Regions from separate parts of the Homo sapiens genome. Here region 2 is linked to region 1. The links are contacts of gene promoters, found by promoter capture Hi-C in human tissues and cell types (Jung and others, 2019). All regions are on one chromosome and are shown on one strand. The core of a region is centred on a gene start or on the middle of the fragment in contact, and the rest is flanking DNA. Distances in the headings are between cores, read along the strand shown. Region 1 holds the start of NKX3-1 (NK3 homeobox 1). Region 2 overlaps SLC25A37 (solute carrier family 25 member 37).

Region 1 (6,852 bases), core at 1,215-3,714:
GAGATTCTCCTGGCCCGGCCCCCCCTCTTGCAGTGGAGTTCTGTTTATACAGCTTGTCTTAAAATCACAGCGAGTGCATCTTGTTCTATTTGGGCCACCCTGTAAATACTTAAGTTGGCATACCATTTTAAAAGGAATAAAAAGGAATAAGAAAAGCTGATATTTTCATCTCCTCCCACCCATCTCCCCCTCCCATGCAAATATGTGCTGAGCATGAGGGCGTTCTCTTGGAGACTCTCTATTTGCCCCTCTCTTTTACAGGGACAGAGAGAGCCTTGGCCATATTCCAAGGCCAACAGGAGGCTTCTGGACTTAAGTTTAATTCAGTTGGTGACATCCTCATCCTGGTTGTCCTTTCTCCTGTTAGGTTTGCTCTTTCAGAGTTGATATTCAGTGACACAGGAGGATGGAGTTGCAGAACAGAATCCTTGGGTGTACAACTCATCCAAAATCATACAAAGTGCTGGAAAATACCACTTGATTTTCCCTCTCTCCCCTTCAAACAGGTAGCCAGAAGCAAAAAAAATGACCTACAGTATGCACTGGAGGAATGACTTAGGTATTAAAACTTTCACTGTCTCTGTTGTTTCATTGTCTCACCAGTGAAGAATCTGAGATTTCCACGCAAATCTCCAATAGCTTTGGTGTGCACACCTCTTGCTCCCTGACCTTGGCCCCTTGTGCTTTTCATAGAGACACCCTGGGGAAGGCAGTTTTTGATCATAATGGTTGTCACCTGAGCTGGCATTACCAAAAAGCTGGGCTCCAGCTGCCCACGCAGTACAGGTATGGGTAGTAAGGATAGCTGTTATACACGGAGACCAGGGAGGCCCGGGAGAAGGCCTCCTCTTTCAGGGCCGGCAAAGAGGAGTGCTTCTCCAAGTCTCCCAGCTCCGAGGAGAGCTGCTTTCGCTTAGTCTTATAGCGTCTGTTCTGGAACCATATCTTCACTTGGGTCTCCGTGAGCTTGAGGTTCTTGGCCAGGTGGGCCCGTTCAGGGGCCGACAGGTACTTCTGATGGCTGAACTTCCTCTCCAACTCGATCACCTGAGTGTGGGAGAAGGCAGCTCGGGAGCGCTTCTGCGGCTGCTTAGGGGTTTGGGGAAGCCTTGGAAGGGCGCCTGAAGTGTTTTCAGAGTCCAACAGATAAGACCCCAAGTGCCTTTCTGGAAAGGAGAGTGGGGAAGGAGGGATGGGAAGACAAAAGTTACATGTTAGCAGGGAAGAGAACAGAATTCAATCCACCCTTATCTCTTTAGTGAGTGAACAAACAGCCCACTGTCATCGTGGATACATTTCACTTTTTTCACATGACTAAGGAGCTCTCCGGAGTGAAGAGTGAGTAAATATGTTTATTACGCATTCATTTGCTAAGAATCATCAAGAACCCAAAGTTAGAGACGTTTCGTGGTTGAACTTTCTCCCTACTGTCTAGTAGAATTATATGGGGATTCTGGATCTGTGTGCTGAGGAGAGGCGGGAGAGGGAGGCAGGGAAAATGCCGTGGAACAAGATACCCGGGAAGGCCAGACCAAAAGACATCCGGTGTTAGGATCCAGGTGGGCAAGAGAGGGCTTGTGCCACTGGAGACGCAGAGGCAGGCTCATTCTGGGCTTTAATTCCCTCTTCGCTAAACGAGGCGTTCGGTCGCCTCATCAGAAGTGACAGGAAAGAAAATAAGTGGACTCTCTCTCCTGGACACCGGAGGGAACCCCGAATATACCGCTTTACTGCCCACGGGATTGGGAAGCACACGGAGGCTTTGCTGGTCAACCCCTGCTTTGTCACTGTTAATAAGTTATTATTAGTTCTCATAACTACCGGGGGGCTGGCGCCGATCGCGGGTGGCGCGGGGCGGGATCCGCTCCTGGGACGGTGGAGGGCGGTGGCGCTGCAGTCGCGCCGGCTTCTGAGCCCCAGGGAGCGGAGGGCACGGAGCCGGGCGAGTCCTGCGGTGTCAGAATCCTGCGCCGCCCTGACGCTGGGGCTCAGGGTTCATTCCGGGGGCGCGCGCGTGGCTGCGGAGGCGGGAAGGTCCCTCTGCCTGTCGCCGCGGAGCCCCGCGTCCCTGCACCCCGAGCTCTGGGGGTCCGCCTTGGGCTGCCCCCCTTCCCCGGCCTCGCCGCTTACCTGGCTCGGTCTCTGCCAGCGTCTCGGCCTCCTCCGGCGCGGCGCGGGGCCCGGTGCTCAGCTGGTCGTTCTGCGCCCCGGCGCGGCTGCGTCCTCCCTCTGGCTCTGGCTCTGGCTCCGGCTCCGGGTCGCGCTGTCTCTGGCTGCTCGTGCGGCCGCCTTGCCGCTGCGCGCCGTCCCGCAGGATGTCCTGGATGAGGAAGGACGTGAGCGGCTTGGACGGGGTCGGCGGCGCGGCCCCCTCCGCTTTCGCCTCCCCGGGCCGCGGCTCCGGAACCCTGAGCATCCCGGCGGCCCCGCCTTGGCCTGAATGCACCCGCCCGGCCCGCACCGCTTTCACTTTCCGCCTCCCGGCTCGCTTATAGCCCAGGGGAGCGGGCCGCGCCGCCCTCCCATTGGCCGCGGGACGGGCCGCGCCGCGGATTGGCCGCCCTGAGCCCCAGGTGACCCCGCCGATCTGCGAGCCCTGAGCACTGCCCCGCTCCGCTCCTCCCTAGGGGATTCCTTCCCCAGTTCCCTCTCCTTCCCCAATTCCCTCTCCTTCCCCAATTTCCTCTCCTTCTCCAGCTCTCCTCCCTCCGCCCTGAGCCGTTTTCCCAGGCCAGGAGCGCACCCCAAAGCGGGGCTCCTCTGCCCCAACCCACCCGCAACAGAGAGAAGCTCCTGGGGATGGGACGATCAAGACAAACAGTCCAGTTAGCTCTTCAGGACCGTCAGAGCCAATTACAGGGGATGAGCACGCAGTCACTGCAGCCGCGCGGTACCGTGAGAGTTCTGGGTGCTCTCTCTCTCTGGGAGAGATGGTGCAAACTCAGATCTGCAATATCTACGACCTCAAAGAGGCATGACAAGTAGGTGCAGCCAGACCCCAGGCTGAAAGAAGGAAAACACCTTTGCCAAAGCCTTTTCCCGTTGCAGAAGTGGTTTTCTTTGGTGGTTCCTTTATCCGCAATAACCTGTTAACTTTCCTTCCTCCCCAGACACATGACATACCATCCTTTTGAAAAGTTTCCAGACGGATGGAAGGCGTTTTAGGCCAGGACAAATGCAAAAACTGCATTTAAAAAAGTAGTTCAAAAGAACATCAGCATACTCTTTTTGCAGATTACCAACTGTTAACATGTAACCCATTGGCTAAACAATGGGTTAGCCAGATTGGTCCAACCGGTACTGTGACTGGACTGGACGGTACCGTGACAACAGACGAAAGTGGAACAGAGATGATGGAAGTATTTTCTTTCCTTGTCTTTTCTCTTCTTTTTTTTACGGACAGGGTCTCCCTCTGCCGCCCAGGCTGGAGTGCAGTGATGCCATCATAACTCACTGCAGCCTCGATTTCCTGGATTCAAGTGATCCTCCTGCCTTGGCCTCTCAAAGTGCCAGGACTACAGGCATGAGTCTCAGTGTCAGGTCGATGATGGAAGTATTGAATTAATGTTAAATTTACTGAAATTGCACATTGTACTGTCAGTGTACAAGAGAATATTTTTAGGAAATAAACACTGAAGTAAGTAGGAGCAAAGGCACAAGATTTATGAAACTTACATCAAATGGTTCTGAAACAAGGATGCAGATTGATAGATCCCACGCCATAAAGCCGATGGGTTAAATGGTAACAGTTGGTAATCTGGAAAAAGGGTAGGCTGATGTTTTTTAGAACCATTTTTTTAATGCAACTTTTTTGTCTGTCCTGGTCTAAGACGGCTTCTATTCAACTGGCAACTTTTCAAAAGGATGGTATGTCATGTGTCTCTGGAGGAAGGAAAGTTAATAGGTTATTGCTGATAAAGCGACCGCCAAAGAAAACTACCTGTGCAACGGGAAAGACTTTGGCAAAGCTGGTTTTCTTCTCTCATCTTTTCAAAGTCTCTTTATATTAGAACATTCTTTAATGTTTTCTTTTGAATCATTGTAGATTCACAGGAAGTTGCAAAAATAATACCTCCAGTGTCCTCCAAAGACATCTATACAACTGTAGGACAATGTAGAAAACAGGAAATTTACGTTGGGACATTACAGTTAACTAGACTACAGACGTCATTTATTTATTTATTTAGAGATAGGGTCTTGCTCTGTTGCCCAGGCTGGAGTGCAGTGGAGAGATCATGGCTCACTGCAACTTCAACCTCCTGGGCTCAGGAGATTCTCCCACCTCAGCCTCCTGAATAGCTGGGACTACAGGTGTGTGCCACCCTGCCCAGTTAATTTTTGTAGTTTTTGTAAAGATAAGGTTTCACCCTGTTGCCCAGGCTGGTCTCAAAGCCCTGGGCTCAAACAATCCTTCCGCCTCCACCACCCAAAGTGCTGAGACTACAGGTGTGAGCCACTGTGCTGGGCCTTATTGTGGTTTAAATTTTTAATTTGCATTTCACAAATGCCTAGAGATGTTGAATACCTTGTCATGTGCTTGTTTGCCATCCATATTTCCTCTTTGGTGAAATATCTGTTCAAGCCTTTTGCTCATATTATAATTGAATTTTTCTTTCTTTTATTTTTTAACCATTGAGTTATGATAGTTCTTTATATATTGCTGTTTGTAAGTCTTTGTTTGGTAGGTTATTTGCAAATATTATCTCCCAGTCTGTAGCTTGTGTTTCCATCCCTCTAACAGGATCTTCAACAGAACAAAAGATTTTAATTTCATTGAAGATCAATTTATGAATTTTTGAATTTTACAGAATGTGATTTTGATGTCCTGCCTAAGAACTCTTTGTTTAGTCCTAATACTGAAGATTTGCTCCTATGTTATCTTCTAAAAGTTTTATGCTTTACTCTTCAATCCATGATTCCTTCAGAATTAATTTTTGTATATAGTGTGAGGTTTAGATTGAGATGGCCTCCTTTTATTTCTAAAATTGAGAGTTGGGTATGAATTATTTAATAACAAGTGCTGCCATTTGGAAAAGATAAAGTCCTATTCTTATGACAAAATAAATTCCAGACAGCTCAAAGATGTAAAACACAAACGAGCACGTGAAAAAAATATTTTAACTACACTTCATCAGTGAAGGAATGCAAATCAAAATCACATTGAGACGAGCCTTTTCCACCTTTCAGATTGACAAAGGTTAAAAAAAATGGATAATGTCCAGTGTAAGTGAGAGTGTGGAGGAACAGCTGCTCTCATACAGCCATGCACTGCATCGTGACGTTTGATCAGTGACAGACAGCATATATGACGGTGGTTCCATAAGGTTATGATACTGTATTTTTACTGTACCTTTTTATGTTTAGATATGTTTACATGCACAAATTCTTACCATTGTATTACCTTTGCTTACAGTATTCAGTACAGTAACATGCTGTACATGTCTGTAGCCTAGGAGCAATAGGGCATACCATGTAGCCTAGGTGTGTAGTAGACTACATCCATCTAAGTTTGTGTAAGTAGCTCTATGATGTTTGCACAGCAATGAAATTGCCTAACATTGCATCTCTCAGAACATATTCTTGTCCCTAAGGATGCATGACTGTTTTTGGATGACAACTTGGGAATATTTGTCAAAATTAAAACTGAGCATATCCTTTGACACAGCTATTCTGTGTTTGGCAATGTGCCCTAGAAGTGCACAAATACACAATGTATTGACTTGGGAACATATCTTCAATTTGGTCAGAGACTGGTTCAAGCTGCAAAGCATGTTATAGATGAAACCCATTGTATAAAACAGCACTATAAGTTACCTATATAATGTTTTTCATTTGAACACTTTAACATACAGAATATATCAGGAACAAGATTTATACATATGTATTCTTTTTTTCCATAGAGTAGTTACCTCTGCTCAGTGAGATGGAGACAGTAGGTTGGGAGAGGGACAGGAGGATAGTGGAACAGGGTGTATTTCCTTGTACTCATTGATAATTTTAAAAAATGAAAAATATCAAGTTGGAGCTGAGCCTGGACTGCCCTCCTCCACCGCGTCCTCCTCAGGCCTGTGAGTGGGGCCACAGCTCGTGGTCCTCGGCCTCACCTCACTGCATCTTTTCTCCCCTTGTGCTTTGTATTTGGGGGTGTGGATGGCTCATCTTCTTTATGAGACTATGAGCTCCCTGAGAAGGGACTGTATCCTCCTCATATTTGTACCATCTCTAAAGTCTGGCTTAGTTCTCGGCATACAGAAGGCGCTCCATAAGTGCTTGCTGGCTCAATGTCCAGCTCCAGTTGTTATGACACATCTCACTGGCTAGCGGAATTATCCATAAGGGGCCAAAGGACCCCCAGGCAAATCACAGTGGAAGGCTCGTCCTCCTCCCCTTGCTGTGTTTATGCAGTTTAAACCGGGTGAAAATGTGCAAGGCAATCTGGAGACACTCAGGGGCTGCAGCCCAGAACAATGCCCCCTTCCAGCGATGACCAACCCCTAGTCCCCAGATTCTGTGAATATGCTATGTAAATAGACAGCGAAAGTTAATGCTGCAGATGGAATTAGGTTTGCTGGTCCGCTGATCCTGAGATGGGAAGGTTATTCTGGATTATCCAAATGGGCCTGTTGTGTCACAGGGGTCTTTATCAGTACAAGTATGAGGCCAGAGAATCAGAGTCAGACAAGATATGACAACTGAAGCAAGGCTAGAAAGAGTCAACTGTGGGAAAGACTCAACTGGCCCTTGCTGGCTTTGAGGGTGCAAGGAGGCCAGGAGCCAACTGATGCAGGCAGCAGGGAAAGAAAAGAAGTGGATTCTCTCCTAGAGCCACCAGAAGGAACACAACCCTGATGA
Region 2 (6,852 bases), core at 1,760-4,259, 140 kb before region 1:
TTGAGGCCCTAGAAAGGTCACCAAACTGGGGCGGGGTGTGGGCCCCGTGAATTTAAGTCCTGGTCCTGCCATTAACCAGCTTGGAAACCTTGGGCTAATCATTTCTCTGGGCTAGTTTTCTCCTTGTGAATCTAGACTAGTGTCATCTACTTTACCTTTTTGACAGGGCTGTTGGGAAGCTTAGGTGAGATAGATTTGTGAATGGCTCTTGCAAACCTTAACATGCAAAGCTAATGACAGATTGTATCAGAGGCAATGTGCTTGATTATTAGAGCTGTTTAGGTTAACAGCACAACCTCTGCAGCCAGACTGCCTGGAGTGGCACCTGGTCAAGTTCCTGAAACCTCTCTTTGCCTTATTTTTCTCATCTATAAAATGGGGCTAATAACTTTACCCATTTCAGTGTTGCTGTGAGAATTAATTGAGATGATACACCTAGAATGTTAAGGCACATGGCAAATGCCCCATTAATATCAGCTCCTCTTGTTATTTCTAAAAGTATTACTTCAATGCCTGGGTATGTTTATATATTGCTGGTGCAATTGTTAATTTTATATTATTTTTGTATTGTTAGCTTTTATTTGGTCATTTGATCCTCTTAGCTCTCCTTTGAAGGTGAGAAAAGGCAGGTGTTGTTTCTCATTTCATATTTGAGAAAACTGAACTTCAGAAAAATTACATGCCCTAGAACTCGGGCCTTTTTCTGCTCCAGAGCTGAAAGCGAGAGAAGAGAGGAAGGGAATTAGGCTGGAGCAAGCCAGTAGGATGTTGGATGCAGACTCAGATGTTAATGGCAGCAGAGCCCTTGAGCTGGATTCTAGAATATGAGAAAGGGCTGAGATTGATGATGGGGCCCAGCTGCATTGTTGGGATGGAGGAACCAGAGTTGAGTCGAGGGAGTAACTCCAGGAAATCATGGCACCCAGAAAGTGTGGCACAGAATGCAGGGCTCTAACGTATAGTTAGGAGTTCTTTGGGCAAGTACTCCAGCAAGCAAGGAAGAAGGATGATGACATATGGTTATTGCCACAGGATATTTTTGGCTGCGTCTGGCTTCTCTCTCTGAAACAAATTGCAGTTGCTGTGACACCTTCTCATTTCAGCAGTGAGTCGAAGTTGCACTCAATATAGTGTTTTGAATTCGGACTAGTCGTGAAGATTCCTTTCCAGATCATAGTATATGTATATAAGTCACTTACTGGGAAGAGCACTACATCATAGTTCCGTGGTCCACTAAGGCTGCAGTTTTCTTATCTGAAATAAGGAGGGGTAACGGTGCCCATCCTGCCTCCCCTGGCAGGTCCGCTTACGCATGTAGTGAGAAAATACAGGCAGGCTTGCAGGGAACACCGCTTTAAAAGTATAAAGCTCTCTGTGCAGGTGCTAGGTCATGGTATTTATTATCACACTGGGATCCTGTGGGAGGGGTAAGGTTAGCTCATTGGAATGGAAAATCCAGGCTCTCATTCCAGCACTAGGACTCAGTGCAGCTGCCTGGCCTTGGGCACTTAACCTCTCTCCTTACAGTGTCTCCCATCTGTTGAGCCAAGACAGGGTGGCTGTCTGCTGCCGCCCATTTGGCTGGCTAATGAGGAAGAGCCAGTGCTGCTCACAGCATGCTCATTTCGTGGTAATGTAGACAGGGGATAGTAGTGGCTGCGTGTAGCAGAAACCAGCAGGGTAGGACCGGATGAGCCCACCTTCAGGGAGGTGTACCCAGGGCTGTTAGTTTGAGGACGTCTGTGGGATTTTATATCCTTACTCTTATTTTCCAAGAAAGTCTGTCCCTTTGAGCACCAGGCAGATGAGTCTGGGGACGCTGTGAGGAGGGGTCCCCCAGGAGCAGGAAGGTGACTAATGATCCCGGAAGAATGACTGTGTGTGTTTGCAGACGCCTGGGCTCTTCCCCAGTTTGGCCTTTCCCGTCACTGTTTTCCTCACTTGCTTAAGAGGAGAAGGAGGTAACGCACACAAGTGCCTTTGTCTCAGGGTCCCCACGGTGCCCATCTTGAGGGTTTTGCGGGCGCCTTGCATTGCCTAAGGCCTGGCTTTAGAAGCAGAACATGGAGAGAGAGGTTTGCAGCCTGCAGGAAGCTGGCCAGCCAGACCTGCCGGGCAGCGGGACCCGCGGGCAGTGCCTCTGACTCACGGCACGTCCTTGATACGCAGTGCTCCCCTCCCCACTTTCTCTGCCCTCCTGTGGATCACGGGTGTCCTAGGGCTGTTGGGAGCCTGGATTAAAGTTGCTGAGTGGCCGGCTGATGATCAGATCCAGGGAGTCAGACCAGAGGTGGGGACATCTTTTCAAAGGCAAGAAGATGCTGCCAGTGCGTGTATATACATATGAGGGTGGAAGGGGTAAACCCAGGGTGTGTCTTTAACTGAAGAATCAAGAAAGCTGCTTTCCTTAGTCACCCGCCTCTGTGGTTCGTTTGCTAAACGTTGGCTTGCGTTAGCCTGATTCACAGTAATGTGGCTCCCAAGGAAGATTCACATGGTATTTGTGAAAATGTAGCTTCATCCCCTGCCCTTCATTGAATGACTGAATTACAGTCAGCACCACATAACGATGTTTCGGTCAACTATGGACTCCATATGTGATGAGACAGTGATCCCATAGATTATAGTGGAGCTGAAAAATTCCTATTACCTAGGGGCATCACAACGCATTGCATTTCGCCCGTGTTTGGGATGATGCTGGTGTAAACCTACTATGCTGCCAGTCATGTAAAAGTATAGCACACACAATTAGTAGGTAATGCTTGCAAATAATAATGAAAGACTCTGCTACTGGTTTATGTATTTACTATGCTATACTTTTTGTCATTACTTTAGAGTGTACTCCTACTTTTTTTTTTTTTTTTTTGAGATGGAGTTTCACTCTTGTCCTGTAGGCTGGAGCGAAGTGGCGCGATCTCGGCTTACTGCAACCTCCACCTCCTGGGTTCAAGCGATTCTCCTGCCTCAGCTTCCCAGAGTAGCTGAGATTACAGGCATGCACCGCCACGCACGGCTAATTTTGTATTTTTGGTAGAGACAGGGTTTCACCATGTTGGCCAGGCTGGTCACCAACTCCTGACCTCAGGTGACCCGCCCTCCTCAGCCTCCCAGAGTGTTGGGATTACAGGTGTGAGCCACCGCCCCTGGCCTTTTTTTTTTTTTTTTTTTTAAGTTAATTGTAAAAGAGCCTCAGGCAGGTCCTTCAGGAGGGATTCCAGAAGAAGGCATTGCGATCACAGGAGGTGCCAGCTGCATTGGGACAAGATGTGGAGGTGGAAGACAGTGATATTGATGATCCTGACCCTCTGTAAGCCTAGGCTAATGTGTATGTTTAAGAAAAAAGTTTAAAAAGTAAAAAAATAAAAAATGTTAAAAGGAAAAGCTTATAGAATAAGGATATAGAGAAAAAATATTTTTTGTAGAGCTGTACAATGTGTTTTGTGTTTTAAGCCAAGTGTTATTACAAGAGTCAAAAAGTCAAAAAATTGAAATTTATAAAACAAAAACATTACAGTAAGCTAAATGTAACTAATTAATTTTATTTATTTTTTTTTTTAGAGACAGGGTCTTGCCTTGTCGCCTAGGCTGGAGTGCAGTGTTGAGATCATAGTTTACTGCAGCCTCGAACTCCTGGGTACAAGGAATCCTCCCTCCTCAGCCTCCTGAGTAGCTGGGATTACAGGTGCGCACCACCACACAGCTAATTTTTAAATTGGTGTAGTGAAGGAGTTTCGCAATGTTGGCCAGGTGGTCTCAAGCTCTTGGCCTCAAGCAGTCCTCCTGCCTCGACCTCCCAAAGTGCTAGGATTACAGGTATGAGTCACCACGCCCAACCTTGAAATTTAATTTATTATGGAAGAAAGCAAAAGTTTAAAAAATAAATTTAGTGTAGCCTAAGTGTACAGTGTTTTTAAAGTCTACGGTAGTGCACAGGAATGTCCCAGGCCTTCACATTTACTCACCACCACTCACTTAAACTCACCCAGAGCAACTTCCAGTTCTGCAGGCTCCATTCATGGTAAATGCCCTACACAGGTGTACCATTAAAAAAAATCTTTTGGCTGGTTGTGATGGCTCATGCCTGTAATCCCATCTCCTGGCTTCATGCCATTCTCCTTCCCCAGCTTCCCGAGTTGCTGGGACTACAGGCGCCTGCCACCACGCCCAGCTAAATTTTGTATTTTTAGTAGAGATGGGGTTTCGCTGTGTTAGCCAGTATGGTCTCGATCTCCTGACCTTGTTTTGATCTGCTTGCCTCGGCCTCCCAAGATGCTGGGATTACAGGCGTGAGCCACTGCGCCCAGCAAAAAACGATGTGGTATTTTCACTGTACTTTTTTTTTGTTATTGAGACGGAGTTTCACTTTTGTTGCCCAGGCTGGAATGCAGTGGCAGAATCTCGGCTCACCGCAACCTCTGCCTACCGGGTTCAAGCAATTCTCCTGCCTCAGCCTCCCGAGTAGATGGGATTACAGGTGTGTGCCACCACGCCCGGCTAATTTTGTATTTTTAGTAGCGATGGGGTTTCACCATGTTGGCCAGGCTGGTCTCGAACTCCCAACCTCAAGTGATCCACCTGCCCTAGCCTCCCAAAGTGCTGGGATTACAGTTGTGAGTCACCGCGCCCAGCCTTCACTGTACTTTTGGTATATTTAGATTCATTTAGATAACAAATACCATGGTATTCCAGTTGCCTGCAGTATTCAGTACAGTAGCATGCTGTACAGGTTTGTAGCCTAGGAGCAACACACTATAGCGTACAGCCTAGGTGTGCGGTAGCTATCCCCTCTCAATTTGTGTAAGTACACTCTGTGATGTTCACAGAAGGATGAAGTCACCTAACAATGCATATCTCAGAACATATCCCCGTCATTTGCGATGCGTGACTGTAATTAAGGAATGGGGCCTATGGGGTATGACTGTGGGTGCTGGGCACTAAGGAGACGGAGGCTTGACACAACCCAGGCATTCCCCATGGGAGCCCCTCTGTGGCAGGAAGGACAGATCTCCAATGAATCATTCCTTTCAGGAGTGATGAGCTCAGTCTTCAGGGATCCTGCACCTCACGGGGAGGAGTTGGGAAAGGCCCCCCGAGGAAGGAATATCTCAGTATCTCTATCTAGACCTGAAGGAGATGTGGATGTTACAACTAAACTGTATGATTCTCTGTGTCCCTGAGAACATCACAGCCTATTTCCAAGGTGCCTGGCCATCCCCAGGGTGCCTGCATGCCACTGACACTCTAATCTGGGGTTCTGCTCTGAGCTGAGAAAGTGTCTGTGGTTTGGGGTCATCAGGTGGCAGCTCTTCTCCTCTCTGTTCTGAAATCTTAATTCCCTGTTTGACTGCCTGGTGGCTTTCAGAGAAGCCCAGCCTCCTCCCAGGTGGGAACTTTCACTGTCGAACTAAGGACCCGAGGAGGGTGGAAACAGGAGGAAGGGAGGCTAAGCGGTCACATCAGAGGCATTTCTGCTCATCGTTGGCTCATAATAGGTGGCAGTAGGGGCTGGTGGAGCAGTGGCCAGGTAAGTTGCTAAAAATAAAACATGCTCATGTGACGTGTGCAGGTTTAGGGTTTGCCTGAGTGAGCTTTCCTGGTCCAGGTCACAACTTGTAGGGCAAAGAGAGACTTGAGGATGGTGTAGGCGACAACTGTGCCTTCCAAAGGTCAGAGATGGACCTGGGATCTTGTAGTACCAGGGCCTGCTCTGGAGGCTCAGATTCGTGTGTCACTTCTTGTCTCTTTTGAAAGGTAACTGGAGAGCTGGACACTTTCCTGTCCTCTCTCTTTCCTTGTAGCCTTCCTCTCTCAGAGATGGCCTGCTATCAAATGCCAGGGGCACAGTCAGCTGGGCTTGGTAAAGGGCCTGAGATGAGAGCTTGGGGACTTTCCCACTGGAGTCCATGATAGTCCAGGGTGTAGACAGAAGCTCTTGGATCTCACAGCTTTGGAAACCGAGTCCTGTTTCTCCAACAGGCCAGTGCGGTGACGGGCACAGACCTGCTGTCCTCTCTATTTGTGTGTCCACTGATTCCCTGGCACAGGGGGTCTTTGTTACAAAATCTCTTTGCTGGGTGCTTTGAAGGAGCACGTGTGTGGGCCTTTTTCAGGGTGGTTAGACAATGCCAAGCTGTCACTCAGAAGAAATGGTCAGGATAGAAGCATAGAAAATGCCCTGTGGAAATGTAGATGAGTGTTCTGGCTCACACCTGTAATCCCAGCTACTCAGGAGGCTGAGGCAGGGGGATTGCTGGCGGACAGCAGTTCGAGACCAGCCTTGGCAACGGAGCAAGACCCTAACTCTAAAAATAAAAATAAAAAAATAGGCCGGGCGCGGTGGCTCATGCCTGTAATTCCAGCACTTTGTGAGGCCAAGACGGGTGGATCACGAGGTCAGAAGTTTGAGACCAGCCTGGCCAACATGGTGAAACCCCGTCTCAACTAAAAATACAAAAATTAGCTGGGTGTGGTAGCAGATGCCTATAATCTCAGCTACTTGAGAGGCTGAGGCGGGAGAATCACTTGAACCCGGGAGGCAGAGGTTGCATTGAGCTGAGATCATGCCATTGCACTCCAGGCCGGGCAACAAGAGCAAGACTCTGTCTCAAGAAAAAAAAAAAAATTGGTTTTGTGTGGTGGTGCACACCTGTAGTCCCAGCTACTCAGGAGGCTGAGGTGGGAAGATTGCTTGAGCCCAGGAGTTTGAGGTTGCAGTGAGCCGTGATCATGCTACTGCACTCTAGCCTGGGTGACAGAGCAAGATCCTGTCTCTAAAAATATTAAAATGAATAAATAAAAGAACAGAAAATGACCTGTGTGGGGAGAAGGGTTATCTGTGAAAGGAGTTAGAAA

Evidence for each region. The method cuts DNA at HindIII sites, captures the fragments that hold promoters and counts their contacts. A contact is called where the count stands out against the background at its distance.
Region 2: a fragment that was not itself captured here is called in contact with the fragment with the promoter of NKX3-1 in region 1 in 8 of the 25 tissues and cell types used here (H1 embryonic stem cells, IMR-90 fibroblasts, aorta and 5 more).

Annotation. Positions count from the first base shown.
Region 1 is chr8:23,680,474-23,687,325 of GRCh38, forward strand. It overlaps NKX3-1 (NK3 homeobox 1), which reads right to left and starts at 2,465. Exons shown (of 2, transcript NM_006167.4): 1 at 2,131-2,465; 2 at 1-1,166. The coding sequence starts at 2,416. The coding sequence ends at 748. The region is part of intron 3 of LOC107986930 (a long non-coding RNA gene); the gene reads left to right. RefSeq lists silencers at 2,047-2,096, 2,137-2,646. The HindIII fragment of the contact is 20,085 bases long and covers 1-6,852 here.
Region 2 is chr8:23,539,530-23,546,381 of GRCh38, forward strand. All of the region lies in intron 1 of SLC25A37 (solute carrier family 25 member 37), which reads left to right. Among named protein-coding and RNA genes, the nearest start is that of SLC25A37, 14 kb to the left of the region's middle. RefSeq lists an enhancer at 2,742-3,523. The HindIII fragment of the contact is 7,289 bases long and covers 1-6,654 here.